Regions from separate parts of the Homo sapiens genome. Here regions 1, 3 and 4 are each linked to region 2. The links are contacts of gene promoters, found by promoter capture Hi-C in blood cells and fetal thymus (Javierre and others, 2016). All regions are on one chromosome and are shown on one strand. Each heading gives the region's core, a stretch centred on a gene start or on the middle of the fragment in contact. The rest is flanking DNA. Distances are from core to core; before and after follow the strand shown.

Region 1 (3,254 bases), core at 224-2,723, 290 kb before region 2:
GCTGGTCAAAGGGTACAAAATTTCAGTTAGACAGACGGAATAAGTTGTAAAGACCTATTGCACAGCATGGTGACCGTAGTTAATAACATATTGTACACTTGAAAATTGCTAAGAGAGAAAATTTCTCTCTCTCTCTATATATATATACACACATATATTTCAAAACATCATATTGTACCTCATAAATATATAATGTTTCTCAACTTATGATGAGATTATAGCCTAATAAACCTAGCCTAAGTTGAAGATATCAGAAGTTGAAATGCATTTAATACACCTAACCTACCAAACATCATAGCTTAGCCTTACCTACCTTAAACTTGCTCAGAACACTTATACTAGTCTACAGTTGGGCAAAATCATCTAACACAAAGCCCCTTTTATAATGAAGTGTTGAATATCTAATGTAATTTATTGAATACTGTTCTAAAAGTGAACACAGAATGGTTGTATGGGTATTCCAAGTACTGTTTTTACTGACTGTGCATTGTGTTTGCACCATCATAAAGTCAAACACTGTAAGTCAAACCATTGTAAATTGGGGACTGCCTTTATACAATTTTTATTTCTCAATTAAAAATAAATAATAATAAATATATGATAGAATGCTTCTTGAAAAAGAATAGCTGGACCCATCACAACCTCAAATTTTAAATCTGAGGCTCACTAAATCTCCCTAAAGCATGCTGGCTTTGTCTTTCAAAAAAAATGGATCTCTAGAGAGTCAAGGAAAGGAGACAGTTGGAATGTGCTGGATTCTGGGGGTGTGTCTCTAGAGACCATGACCCTCTGAAGCAAACAAAGCTGGGCCCTCCTTCTACATGGTGCTTTTGATATTTCTATTAAAATATAATGAATCTGCTCCTCCTCCAAGTAGGTGACTGTTTCTGACTTCCAATGTGTTTGTGTGTGTTGTTGCCATAATTTCCTGGGAGCACCCAGATGGGATGGAGGCAGCATCTAATACTTTGCCTGGTGCAGTGTGGGTACTTGATGAATGTTTGTTGAATGAATGAGTGATACGAGGGCACTGAAGCAGACAGACCGGGGTCTCAGTCTTGTCTCTGAAACTTGCTGTCCATGTAACAATGGTCAAAGTAGCATAACCTCCTCTCATCTACAAAATGGGAGTGTTAGTGTTGTGGGATTCCCGTGTAGACTTAAGGGAAGCAATGTGTGAAAACTATTTTGCATGGTGCCTGGAAAAGGAAAGGTACTCAAAAATGGCTGCTGTCTTTTTATTATTGTGAAAAAGGCTTCCACCCTGAAGTGGTACTAAAGTAGCCTGGGTGGCCAGATCAGATAAGGCCAGGAGGAGAGAGGTGAAGCTGTGCTTTGGCTGAACACTCTGTTCCTGAGGCAGCCCAGCCCCATGAAAAGCCTGAGTTAAAGGTGAATGAGCTGGATGTGGGGCCAGGCTCCTCCCCTTGGTCCCTTTTCTCCCTAAAATGGCAACCCCAGGCTGAGCCACTGGCTGAGTGGCACCATGCAGCTTCAGGCCTCTCTCTCGTTTCTCCTGATTCTCACTCTCTGCCTAGAGCTTCGATCAGAACTAGCACGAGGTTGGTATGAAATGTGGGATCTCAAAGAATAGACTGGGAATCAGGCTGGGGGGCGGGGTGGTGGGGGAGGTGATGCAGCACAAACAGAGCCCATTTCTTACCTTACCGGATTGAGAGTCAATTCAGTTCAATTCACTTCATCAGACATATGTTGGGCACATAGTTATGTGCCAGGCACTGTCCTAGGTGCTGAGGTTAAAGCAAAGAGCCTGAGACCCTGCCTTTGTGAAATTAAGATGCTAATGGGAGAGAGACATACAATACCTAATACAAATGATAGATGATCAAAGTGCTATAGAAAATGAAATAAGTAAAGCAGGAAAAGGGGCCTTCAATGTCTGGGGTGGGGCTGGTGGCAGGCAAGGAGAGGTTGGGAAAAGGAGATCAGAGCCAGAATTTGAGAGTGAGGGACTTAGCCAAGTTAGATGCACTTGTCAGAAAAGGCTCCTTCCTGGACCACTTTCTCTGTGGAAGCTTGGAATCTGCAAATGGAAGTGGGGAGATGAAGTGCAGTTATAGCTAAGATAATCTGCTGGAAATGGGGATGGTAGGCAGCAGTTTCCAAGATTTTTAAGCAGCCAGTAGGATGCCCTGTATAAAAATGCATATTAGAATACACAAAAGGGTAAGAAAGAAGGTGAAAAATTATCAAAATCTTACCCTCTGGAGATTATCACTGTCAATGTGCCAGTGAACATTCTTGCATGTGCAAGCATAGTTCTCTGCATGTATGTACATGGAGCTATTAATGATAGATTCTTAGACATAAATGGAACTCTAAACCTCCCAATAACCTTATAGATGAGTGGTTCTCGAGTTTGTCCCCTAGTCTGACAGCAATAGCAGCAGCAGTATCAACTGGAAACATGCTAGTTCCCAGTCCCACCTGATCAGAAACTGTGGAGGTGGGTCTCTCTAACAAGCCTTCTAGATGATTCTGACGCATACTCAAGTTTGAAAATGTCTGCCATAAGTAAGAAGAATGTAGTGGTTTACAGTATGAGCATTCCTGGAGTCAGACACACCTGGGTTCTGGTCCAGGCTCCTCTACTTACAAACTCTGTGCCTCAGGAACATCATTTATAGCCTCTCTGAGCATCAGTTTCTTCTTCTATAAAAAAAGATTAACCATCTTTTCTGCTTTATTAATCAAATAGTCTGATGTATGTCAAGCTCTCAGTATAACTTAGCTCTTAATAGATTCTTGTAAAGCACTTAGAACAGCTTCTGTCACACTCAAAACACACACACAGGGTGTCATTATCTACTTTACATAAAAAAGAAGCAAGTCAAGTGATTTTCCTTTGGTTTAATGGAATGGAAGAGCAGAGAAGCAAGACTGAGAAAACTAAGAGCAGATGGGACTCCAGCCCCTACAGAGTCACCTGTAAGGGTCTAAGGGCCGATGATGCAGTGACTAGGATGTCTTAAGAACATGCCCCTCCACCTCCCACCTGGATTGAATAAGCTATTCTGCCTCTTCCCCATTCTCCTGCACCCTTAGCGTCAGCCTTGCAGGTAGGAGGATAAGACAGAGTCTGAACCTTTCCAAGCCCTAGGCTGCTGCCTGAAGTTCCACCATAGGTGTGATCATTCATCTGTGCATTCACTCATTTTACAACAACCAAGATGGATGGAGAACCTGCAAGCCTTTGCAGTCGAACCATGCTGGGTTTGATTCTTGGTCCTACT
Region 2 (3,357 bases), core at 65-2,564:
TTGAAGATTGGTATGATATTTTATTTTCCTTATGGCCATGCTCTTGATCTTGACTATGAATTGTTACCTGGTTTTGAGACTTGCCATGTATTTTCTCTTCAGTTTGGATAGAAATGCTGCCTTTGGATACATCTTTCTGTACACTCTTTTCTCCATGGTGAAGTTGTCTTTCTTCTGTACGTGAAGACGGGTATGATATTTTATGTGCCTTCCGGCCATGCTCTTGATCTTGACTGAGATTTTTTGTCTGGTGTTGATTCTTGTTATATACTAGGAGCTCATCTTGGGTAGTAAAAATGTCTTTGGGTCCATGTTGGAGTCTGTCTTGATGTGCAGGATGGAGTGAAGTTTGTAGTTTACTTGAATGTTCCTCTCTCACGTCAACCACATTTTGGTAATGCCCTTTATTTTGATGAGAATTTTTAGTCTCACGTTGTTGTTTGTTAACTACTAGTTCTTCAGTTTGGAGAACATAACTGCTTTGGGATCCACCTTGTGTTCTACCTTTTTGTGCACCAGAGGCTGAAGCTTGTTCTTTACTTAGTCCATGAACCCATAGCCTTTTTTCTGTGTTTGAACATTGACTGGATAATCCCTTTCCAGATGGGCTATTCCCCTGATCTTGAGAAGGATTTTGTGTCCCATGATGAGCTTGGCCTCCTTTATGATGTATAACTATCATGTGAAAATGACCTTTTGATTTATCATGGTCTCTGCCTTCTTGTTTATAATTGAGCAGTTGTTGACTTCCACCTAGGTGTTGTTTTGATTTTGTCGCCTTATGTAGGGCATTCAAATCATATTGCTGACTTTTTCGGGTCCAGTCATGATCATTGATGTCTACATGATATGTGTGTTGAATAGAAAAACTGCCTTTGGATTTAGTATGTTGTTGGTCTTTTTGTCCAAAATAGTGCTGGCCCTTTTGTCCATGTGGAAATTGGGAAGATCCGCTTGGCAATTGGCCTTTTGATCCACCTGGTAATTGATAATAGAAATGTATGCATTCATTATCTCCAAAGCTCTCTTGCAACTCTTACCTCCCACCTTTTCCCAACAAATTTCTGATATTTCCAAAAGCCTACAGCGTTGGGTGGAGAAAAATCAATTCTCATCAAGGAGAAGAATCTGTGCCTGAACAGGTTACTGTTTGCACCCTGAATATCCTTAGAGGCCATTTTTTTAAAGTAGCTTTCCCCAAGGCTTACCCTCTCCACTCACCTTTTTGTCCCATCACAGCTGCTTGCTTCTCCAAGATAAGGAGCAGGGAAAGGACAAAGAGGATGATGGACTTCATCTTGCTTGAAAAATCTTGTCTGAGAACTGAGCGGATCTCTTCATTTATATGTTCCTTGAGTGGGTGTGCTATGGGTGGAGCTGAAATGTCAAAAGGCACTGCCCTTTCATAGCTTATTAGTAAATGCCAGCTTCCTCACCCCTGCTCAGTGGGGGATAATGTCAAAGTCCCCAGGGACTTAGCATGGGGACATAATATCAAAGGCAATTTTTTTTACTTTCAGAATCCCCAGCAAAATTTTATCGGTCTTTGTATATCATCATGCCAGATCGCTTGCATTATACAGAAGAAATTCAGTCCGGAGTAGGAAGGAGACTAGCTTCAGGTTACAAAAGTAATTGGTGGCTGACAATGCCTTCATACTCTAAATGCGAGTTTCCTTTCTGATCCAATAACTTAAATACTAAATTTTAGGTATAACTCTATACTTTGTCTTGTTTTAAAGTAATCCTGAGACACATTCTGTTTTACTCGAGAAGGAGCAGTCATAGAAGTAGAATGATACAGAAGAGAAAGAAACTTCATGGAAGCCAAAGAAAAAAATTTCAACAAATAAATGAGGCATACCAATGTCAAATGTATCTGTGAAGTTCATCACAAAAAAGACTAACATGTGTCAAAAACTTTCTGATGTTACTCACTGCTAGTAATGTTAACGAGAGATGAATACAGTTGTGTTGGGTTGTCAGTTGAAGGATGGAGTCCAGCTGAAACCATCTCAAGAAGTCTGATTTCATGGTGGAATGAGAGGTGAGGCTGTATCTGGAGGGTGAGGTAAGCTCCAGAGATTTTTTGAAAGGATGAGAAAAATTTAACATGTTTTTATGATGATAGGAACAACTGTTGGAAAAAGAAGTAAGAATGTTGGTTTCCAAATTGGATTATTTGATGATATTTACCTAAACAAAAATGTATTTACCAAAATACATTTTTTAAATAAAAGCATTTCATACTTCTGTAATAAACTGCTGAACCCTCCAACAGGCTGTGAGGAATATTTGCCAACTTCAGTTCATTAAATAATGTATTGAGAGTGGACCTAAAGCTAAAATTTTTACCTTGGGTGGAAGCATAGGGTTTTTTTGCTTTTGTTTTGTTTTGTTGTGTTGTGTTGTTTTGTTTTGTTTTTTTGCAATTGTGAAAACTTCTTGAAAAATCCAAGGAAGGTTTTTTGTTTGTTTGTTTGTTTGTTTTGTTTTTTTTGTTTGTTTGTTTTTGAGACAGAGTCTCGCTCTGTCGCCCAGGCTGGAGTGCAGTGGCACCATCTCGGCTCACTGCAAGCTGTGCCTCCCAGGTTCATGCCATTCTCCTGCCTCAGCTTCCCAAGTAGCTGGGACTACAGGTGCCTGCCACCACGCCCGGCTAATTTTTTGTATTTTTAGTAGAGACGGGGTTTCACCGTGTTAGCCAGGATGGTCTCAATCTCCTGACCTCGTGATCCGCCCGCCTCAGCCTCCCAAACTGCTGGGATTACAGGCATGAGCCACTGCACCCGGCCAGTTTCTTTACTTTGACTGAAAAAGTCCTTGTTATGAGAAGACAACAGGAGAAGCAGCAACATTTGAACAGTGACCCTGTATGCATTCAGAACACTGTGGAGGGTAGTTCTGGAGAAAGGACGGCTTGGAAACTTATTTTCTATTATTCTCTCTTAAAATCCTAACCTTCCTGTAAGCAATGCTATATGGAAGGGGAGAGGGGAAAGGCCAACCATAGGAAAAAATGCTACTTATGCCATCAAACTTGAAGCATGTGAGCTATGTGGTTTCTCTATGAGCCATTCTGAGATCTTACCAGTTTTATCTGTTTGCCCTAAGGGCAGTAAGTATTTCCTTATGGCAGGGACCCCAAAAGAAAAGAGTAAAGTTTTCCTGAACACAAATTTATTGCTGTACCTGCTAATCACTATAATCTTCCTTACACTTCCCTTAAGGAAATACCAGGAACTGTTGTGTTCCAAGATTACCGGAACAAACAAGAGTCTGAAATATTAATCTTACTTATGGATCAAGAACAAAACTTCCAACTAATCTAGTGTCCAAAAGATACAGATAAAACAA
Region 3 (3,462 bases), core at 852-3,351, 480 kb before region 2:
TATCAATGGTGTATGTGGTGAACAAGAAAGAGGTTTGTATGTTCGTTCTGCACTGATTCATTGTGTGGTCTTGAGCAAGTTGTAGAGCTTCTCATTAACAACATAGTTTACCCTGGGGTTAACCTAACATGGGTTATTTGTGTACAGGAAGAATGAGTGAAAGGTAAGTTTTGGTAAAGGATGAAGACCATGCATTAAACTGAAGGTACTGGATCAGAGAGCTGGGACCCAATTCACAAGTAAGTTCTGGGAGTGACTTCTTTCATGGTAAGAAGGGTGGGGATTTCAGAATGGCGTTCAAAGATTCAGCTTTTTTCTTCCTTGGTGTCTCTCGATCAGGAGGCCAGAGCACCAGGATGCCCCACTTTCTACTGTTAGAGAAGAATAAGCATCATTATGTTGACTTCCTATTTCCTCCCCTACCCCCAAGTATTTCAGTTCAAAGCTAAGACCTACCTGCCCTGGGAGAGTCTTCCCTAAGTCCACAACCCACAATCTCCTTTCTATTCCTGGACTCTAAAGATGGGCCCCATTAATCCCTTTCCCCAAGCCCTTCCAGGTCCTAATTTTTGTACCTTGTGATTCTCCCTTTCTTTGGGGGCAAAAGTCAAAAGTGGGGCATTCTATTGCAAATAGAGGAATTGTGGGTCTATTCCTCTGCAAATATTTGCAATTAGAAGGAAATCTATAGGATATTATGATGATTTGAAAGGAATGAATGAAGAAAGAGGTCATGACTATAACTGTAGTAGCAAATGGCACCAGAATTGGGGTAAAAGAAGCTGAGGTTCAAGCTGTTGACAATTTAACAGAGACCAATAACTAGTACTCACCCCTGGCCTCTCAGCTATTCTATAGCTCACTGGGGCACTGCAAGAAATTGGAACTAATCCACACTTTGAAGAGCTTGGGGCTCAACAGAGCAGTTTAGAGATAGACACCATGATCCAGAGATCTCAGAGAGGTCACCCTTTTCAAGTCTTGACCCCTCTTCTGGGTATCTGGTCCCAACTTCACTCACAGCATTTACCAGTCTTTTAGAAAGCCTCTTTGTGCCTTTCCTCAAATTCTGATTCTCCAATTAACTCTACCCTGGGCACTCCTATTTTCTTGTAGCTTGCTTAGTCCCTCTTAGTCCTACAAACCTGCATGCCTTTTCTGAAACTTCTTAAGCAGGACCTAGCCTCCCCAGACACATGAGCTACCACACTTATCCCTCTTCTGAGCCGCCAGTATTCTGAAGATGTTTTCCCCATAGAAGAGTGGATGTATGATGAATAACAGTTCTTTTCCCACTTGGTATTGGTTAAGGTCAACATTACTAGAGCCAGAGCTCTTTTGAGTTGAGCTGGGCAGTGGTGGCTGCTGAGATGGACTCTACACTGTCCCATTGATGCTAATTACCGGTAATTGTACAGTACCTCTGGAGTTTGAAAATGTGGAATAAAAGGCAAGACTTCCTTTCCCTCCTTCCCAAAACATCCTCCAAGGCCAAGGTTATGTAGATTCTAGCTTGAGTTCTACCAACTTCGTTGTCTCTCTGTTTTATTGCTTGAAAAGTGAGTCCAAGCATCCATGAAGGAGCCACGGGCAGCAAGACTAAGCTGGATGATGAGGCTGATCACATTTACAGCATTTAATATTACTGAGCATTTACCATGGTTTAGTAAGAGTGAGCTATGTCTGCATGCATTATCTGTTCTCCTCCTGTATTCATTATAAGGATAAAAACCTGAGGCCCAGATACTATGCCCAAGGTCACTCAGCAACAGAGCAGGGATTCAAACCTAGATCTTGCCAACAATAAAGCTTGGGCCCTTGAACATGACACGGTATTTTTCCAAGAGGTGTGACAGACTGTCAGCCCTCAGATCCTCTCCTATCCACACATGTTACTTCCCTCCTTGGGCCCAGATCCAGCACCTACTCAGAACACGCTGCTTGGGACTCCCAGGCACCAGCTGCAGTGCTAGGCAGAACACCACCAGGAACTGGAGAGGCAGCACAGGCTTCATGGTGTCAGTGGGATGGGTGAGTAAGTTCTGGCCAAGGGTTGCTGGGTTTGACCAGGCACTGCTGTGAGGAGAAGAGAAGGAAAGAGGGCAAAGTGGAGGCCCAGTGTGACTAGCCTTTCACCGTGTACTCCAATCAAAACCGGCAGGGCAGGAATCCAAGCACCTCCCAATCACACCCACTCCAGGGTCACGTAGTGTTTTCATATCCTCCTTTATTCCCCTAATCTTGACCTTGCTATCTCTTTCATCTGTATCTAGATCTTATTCATGTCCCTTAACATTTTTTTATAATTTTCCCCTGTGGAAATTGTACATGTTATATTTATTCACAGAGGATTGAATTTTTTTTTTTTTTTTTTGAGATGATGGAGTCTGGCTCTGTCACCCAGGCTGGAGTGCAGTGGTGCGATCTCTGCTCACTGCAGCCTCTTCCTCCCAGGTTCAAGCAATTCTTGTGTCTCAGACTCCTGAGTTGCTGGGATTACAGGCGTGTACCACCATGTCCAGCTAATTTTTGTATTTTTAGTAGAGATGGGGTTTCACTGTGTTATCCAGGCTAGTCTTGAACTCCTGACCTCAGGTGATCTGCCCTCCTCAGCCTCTCAAAGTGCTAGGATTACAGGTGTGAGCCACCGCGCCTGGTCTGAGGCTTGAAGTTTTTAAAAGGAAATTGTAAATGTTATCATAACTTTTCAACTAATTCCTTTTGTTTACTGCTAATGTAGAGAAGTTAACTTTCCAGTTTGCTCAAAAATCTCCACCATGACAATTATTTGACCTCACTGAAACCAATAAACATTGACTCTTCACTTCCCTATTTCGTAGTCCTCCCCTATAGGCGTTTACTTTTCTTTCTATCAATGTAGGACTCAGAACCTGTCATTTAAATCTCCTTGCTTGAATCTACCTACAAAAACTGCAACCCTGAATGAATCCAACCATCAATTTCATTGAAGCTTGAACCTAGGCAGATAATTGTTGCTGGGGGAAAATAACTCAACTGGGCTACTAAACAGCACAATAGATGCACCATCACCAAACCAAAAAGGGTCTGGCAATCTTACTAAGTTTCTTCAGTAAGCCAGTGTTCCCACTTTCTACAAATACTATTTCAAACTTGCTTTCCTCTCTTTAAAGCTTGGATCTTTTCTTCTTTCCACAAATTTGTAACTAGTTAGCTTGCTAAATTCTCCCATTGTTTATTATGGTTTCTTTGTGTGTTCTCTTCAGTGTTTATCATAGGCAAATAAGCAGTTATAGTTTTCTTCTTCAAACTTTATGCCATTTTTAATGCCTCACTGTGCTCGCTAGGCCCTTGAGTACATCATATGTAAGTGGTGATAGTGTGTATTTTTGTCTGATACCTGATTTAAAATGAAAACTTCTTGTTTCCCCTTTTAGAATTGTCTCCACTTTAGGTTTCTCATAAGTACCCTCTATCAGGTTT
Region 4 (3,095 bases), core at 143-2,642, 320 kb before region 2:
TCTTTCAGGAATTGGCACACTCTCTTCCACAATGGTTGAACCAATTTACATTCCCAACAGTGTAAAAGCATTCATGTTTCTCCACAGCTTTACCAGCATCTGTTGTTTCTGGACTTTTTAATAATCACCATTCTGACTGGCATGAGATGGTATCTCATTGTGGTTTTGATTTGCATTTCTCTGATGATCACTGGTGTTGAGCTTTTTTTCATATGTTTGTTGGCCGCATAAATGTCTTCTTTTGAGAAGTGTCTGTTCATGTCCTTTGCCCACTTTTCAATGGGGTTGTTTGTTTTTTTTCTTGTAAATTTGTTTAAGTTCCTTGTAGATTCTGGATATCAGACCACAAATTTTCTTAATCTGTCTCCAGTGATGGGAAAGCTAAGCTATTTGTCCACTGATTCCCAACGCCCACTGGATGCCAGGGATACTAAATCCCTCGCTCTTTCAAACTGTTATACTTGCAAGCTATACAAGCTCCCTGGGGGCCAGAGAAAACCCACAGCAGAAAATTAGGGACTGATGCTAGAGGTAGGAGGCTGTCAATGTGCATTGGCTATTATTCGGCCATAAAAAGGAATGAACTTCTCACTCACCACTGATGACATGCCTTGCTGCACACACACCCTGCTGCCACCCTGCAGAAATGCTTCCATTACCCACAGTCCTTTGCCAGATGGAACTGATGCCCAGGTAACTGGCTCCTCACCTCCTTCGGGCTTATACCAAGGATATAAAACTTGGTACAGATGCTCAAGCGTTAATGCTTCAGGGTGTGACTTTTAATCCAATGCTGTAGCTGTGACAACAGGGAAAAACGGAGAACAGAGTTGGAGAAGTCCCAAAGTAATGAAAGAAGTTATTTACTGTTGCAAAATCAAACGACTTAAAGGATAAATGTAACTGATCTTTACATACGAAAGAAGAGAGAGGGAAGTGAAGGGCGGGGAGAAAGAGACTCAGACAGACAGAGACTCCCTGAGAAAAAGACAGGCACAGAGTAAAAGACATACAGATGCACAGAAAAGAGAAGAAACAGAGTGAGAAAAATAAAACATAAGAATAGACATGTCAGGAGAAGAGTGAAATTAGAAAGAAGGAAGAGAGCTAGCATACTGTTAACCTGCAAACTCCCCCTGGGAAATGGAAGACTCTGGAGTTAAACCTCCCCTTCTGCTAAGGGAGCCTGGAAAGCCCAAGACAACATGTGCCCTCTTTCCCTGGTAGACCAGAAAGCCTCAGATTGCTGAGGATTAGGAGCCACCTATCCCCCAGTGTAGGTACCAGGTAGTCCCACTGATGGCCTCAGGGATCTGGTGTTCCTGATCGGGGAGTCTGGCTGGCTTGTCTCCAGGGCTGTCTCTTAAGGTGCTGGGCCACACCGGGGCAGGCAAAGTGCAGATGTAGGAGCTGCTGAGGAGCAGTTCTTAGTTTTGGTGCCATCAACCAGGCCAGTACTTCCTAAAATGGGACTCTCAGGACTTCTGCCAATCCTGGTACCATTCATCCTTTTGGGGGACATCCAGGAACCTGGGCACGCTGAAGGCATCCTTGGCAGTAAGTATTGGGAACTCCGTCCTTGCAATGGGGAAAGGAAACTCAGTGGGGAGGAAGGAACAAAGAATAATTTTGCAGCTGAGAAATTATTTTCTCCACCTCTGCCTGGAATTCCAGGTGGGAAAGAGGGGAGCTATTTGAAGTCTCTTGGTAAGAGACTCCCTTGGTGAATACAGGCATCCAAATCTGTGGCAAGTGACTCCTTGCTGCCATTCCAAAGAGTTCTTCCTGGAGGTGCCTGGACCTAGAGCTCATGAAATGAACTAAGAAGGAGTAGTAAGCCCAAGGAAGTCTCCCACAAGAAAAACAGGCTGCTCCCCACAACACCACCTGTGTCAACTTCCAAATGTTCTCATTGCAGCCCCCACACCCATACCCACAGAGGACCCTGGTCTTTGGGTTAAAGAATGGTCTCCAGAAGTCCCTTGGAATGCTGAAATGTGAAGACTCACAATTAGCAGCTAACTGTACTGGGCACTGAAAATTAGTGGTTGAAAGTGAGCACTCAGGAGCCACACATTGTAGGTTCAAACCTGGCTCCACCCCTGAGTAGCTGTGTGATCTTGGGCAAATTCACATAATCTCCTTATGCTTCCAATTCTTCTGTTTACAAAATGTGAATATTAAGAGTACTTACCCATAGATTTGTAATGAGGATTAAGGAGAAAAGGCAGCTCACAGTAAGTGCTTCATCCATATTACTCATTGTTACGTTACATTGCCCCAGGCAGTTTGACGATGGCTTGTCAAACTGTGTTGCTGGTTAGTCTTCAAAGCAACCCTATGGGCAAATGAGGAAATCAAGGCTCAGAGAGAGTGCCTGGCACACCAAGCGTCTCACAGAATTCAAAAGCCCAGCTATCTGATGCCAGAAATGTTAATCTCAATCATCGAGAGCCACAGCACCTCCTGGGGGAGCAACCAAGCACAGCAAGGCTGAGTGACCAGAACAGTCTTAGAGGAATGCGTCTTTCTCTCAGGAATCTCATAGATGGTGCGGGTAGGGGGTAGGGGTTGGTTTAGGCATCCGATGGTGAGTTGTTATGGGGTTGGGGATGTGAGCAGTGTTGTGAAATTCCTGAGCCCCCTGAGGGCCACTACCTTCTGGGGATAGGTGAAGTGGAAACAAAGTTCTCTAACTCTGGAGGGGTGCCCTGGTCTCGGGGAGGGGGAGCACTGGCTCCTTTAAGGCCTTGAGGGAATATATCTTCCCCTCCCTTAGAGCCGTGTCCCAAAATCAAAGTGGAATGCGAAGTGGAAGAAATAGACCAGTGTACCAAACCCAGAGATTGCCCAGAAAACATGAAGTGTTGCCCGTTCAGCCGTGGAAAGAAATGTTTAGACTTCAGAAAGGTAACTCAGATGCTTCCTAAATTACCCAGTGCCCTCACCTCCTATCTCCACCTGCACTGCACTACCTCTGTCTCCTAGTTCACTGATGGCTGGTCTCTGACCAAGAGTTTAGGTACATCTTCTACTTGACACAAATCTGCCAGTCCTGGACTTGGGAGACATGGATTTTATTTCATTTCTTCCTC

The links. Contacts are between HindIII fragments. The CHiCAGO score rates a contact against its expected background, and 5 or more counts as called.
Region 1: a contact is called between the fragment with the promoter of SPINT3 here and the fragment with the promoter of SEMG2 in region 2, in 5 of 17 cell types (M2 macrophages, M0 macrophages, erythroblasts and 2 more). The highest score is 7.8, in M2 macrophages.
Region 3: the fragment with the promoter of WFDC13 here is called in contact with the fragment with the promoter of SEMG2 in region 2 in 16 of 17 cell types (M2 macrophages, endothelial precursors, M0 macrophages and 13 more); the score reaches 19.6 in M2 macrophages.
Region 4: a contact is called between the fragment with the promoter of WFDC6 here and the fragment with the promoter of SEMG2 in region 2, in 3 of 17 cell types (M2 macrophages, erythroblasts and total CD4 T cells). The highest score is 8.2, in M2 macrophages.

Annotation. Positions count from the first base shown.
Region 1 is chr20:45,513,841-45,517,094 of GRCh38, reverse strand. It overlaps SPINT3 (serine peptidase inhibitor, Kunitz type 3), which reads left to right and starts at 1,473. Exons shown (of 2, transcript NM_006652.2): 1 at 1,473-1,562. The coding sequence starts at 1,487. All of the region lies in intron 1 of LOC107987282 (a long non-coding RNA gene), which reads right to left. The HindIII fragment of the contact is 7,076 bases long and covers 1-2,038 here.
Region 2 is chr20:45,219,330-45,222,686 of GRCh38, reverse strand. SEMG2 (semenogelin 2) reads right to left here and starts at 1,314. Exons shown (of 3, transcript NM_003008.3): 1 at 1,222-1,314; 2 at 1-978. The coding sequence starts at 1,297. The HindIII fragment of the contact is 11,661 bases long and covers 531-3,357 here.
Region 3 is chr20:45,700,677-45,704,138 of GRCh38, reverse strand. It overlaps WFDC13 (WAP four-disulfide core domain 13), which reads right to left and starts at 2,101. Exons shown (of 4, transcript NM_172005.2): 1 at 1,928-2,101. The coding sequence starts at 2,015. All of the region lies in intron 2 of WFDC10B (WAP four-disulfide core domain 10B), which reads left to right. The HindIII fragment of the contact is 1,162 bases long and covers 1,812-2,973 here.
Region 4 is chr20:45,537,779-45,540,873 of GRCh38, reverse strand. WFDC6 (WAP four-disulfide core domain 6) reads left to right here and starts at 1,392. Exons shown (of 3, transcript NM_080827.2): 1 at 1,392-1,557; 2 at 2,780-2,910. The coding sequence starts at 1,467. EPPIN-WFDC6 (EPPIN-WFDC6 readthrough) reads left to right here. Exons shown (of 5, transcript NM_001198986.2): 4 at 2,780-2,910. EPPIN (epididymal peptidase inhibitor) reads left to right here. Exons shown (of 4, transcript NM_020398.4): 4 at 1-248. It overlaps LOC107987282 (a long non-coding RNA gene), which reads right to left. Exons shown (of 4, transcript XR_001754641.3): 3 at 2,195-2,338; 4 at 487-799. It also overlaps the pseudogene HSPD1P21. The HindIII fragment of the contact is 26,653 bases long and covers 1-3,095 here.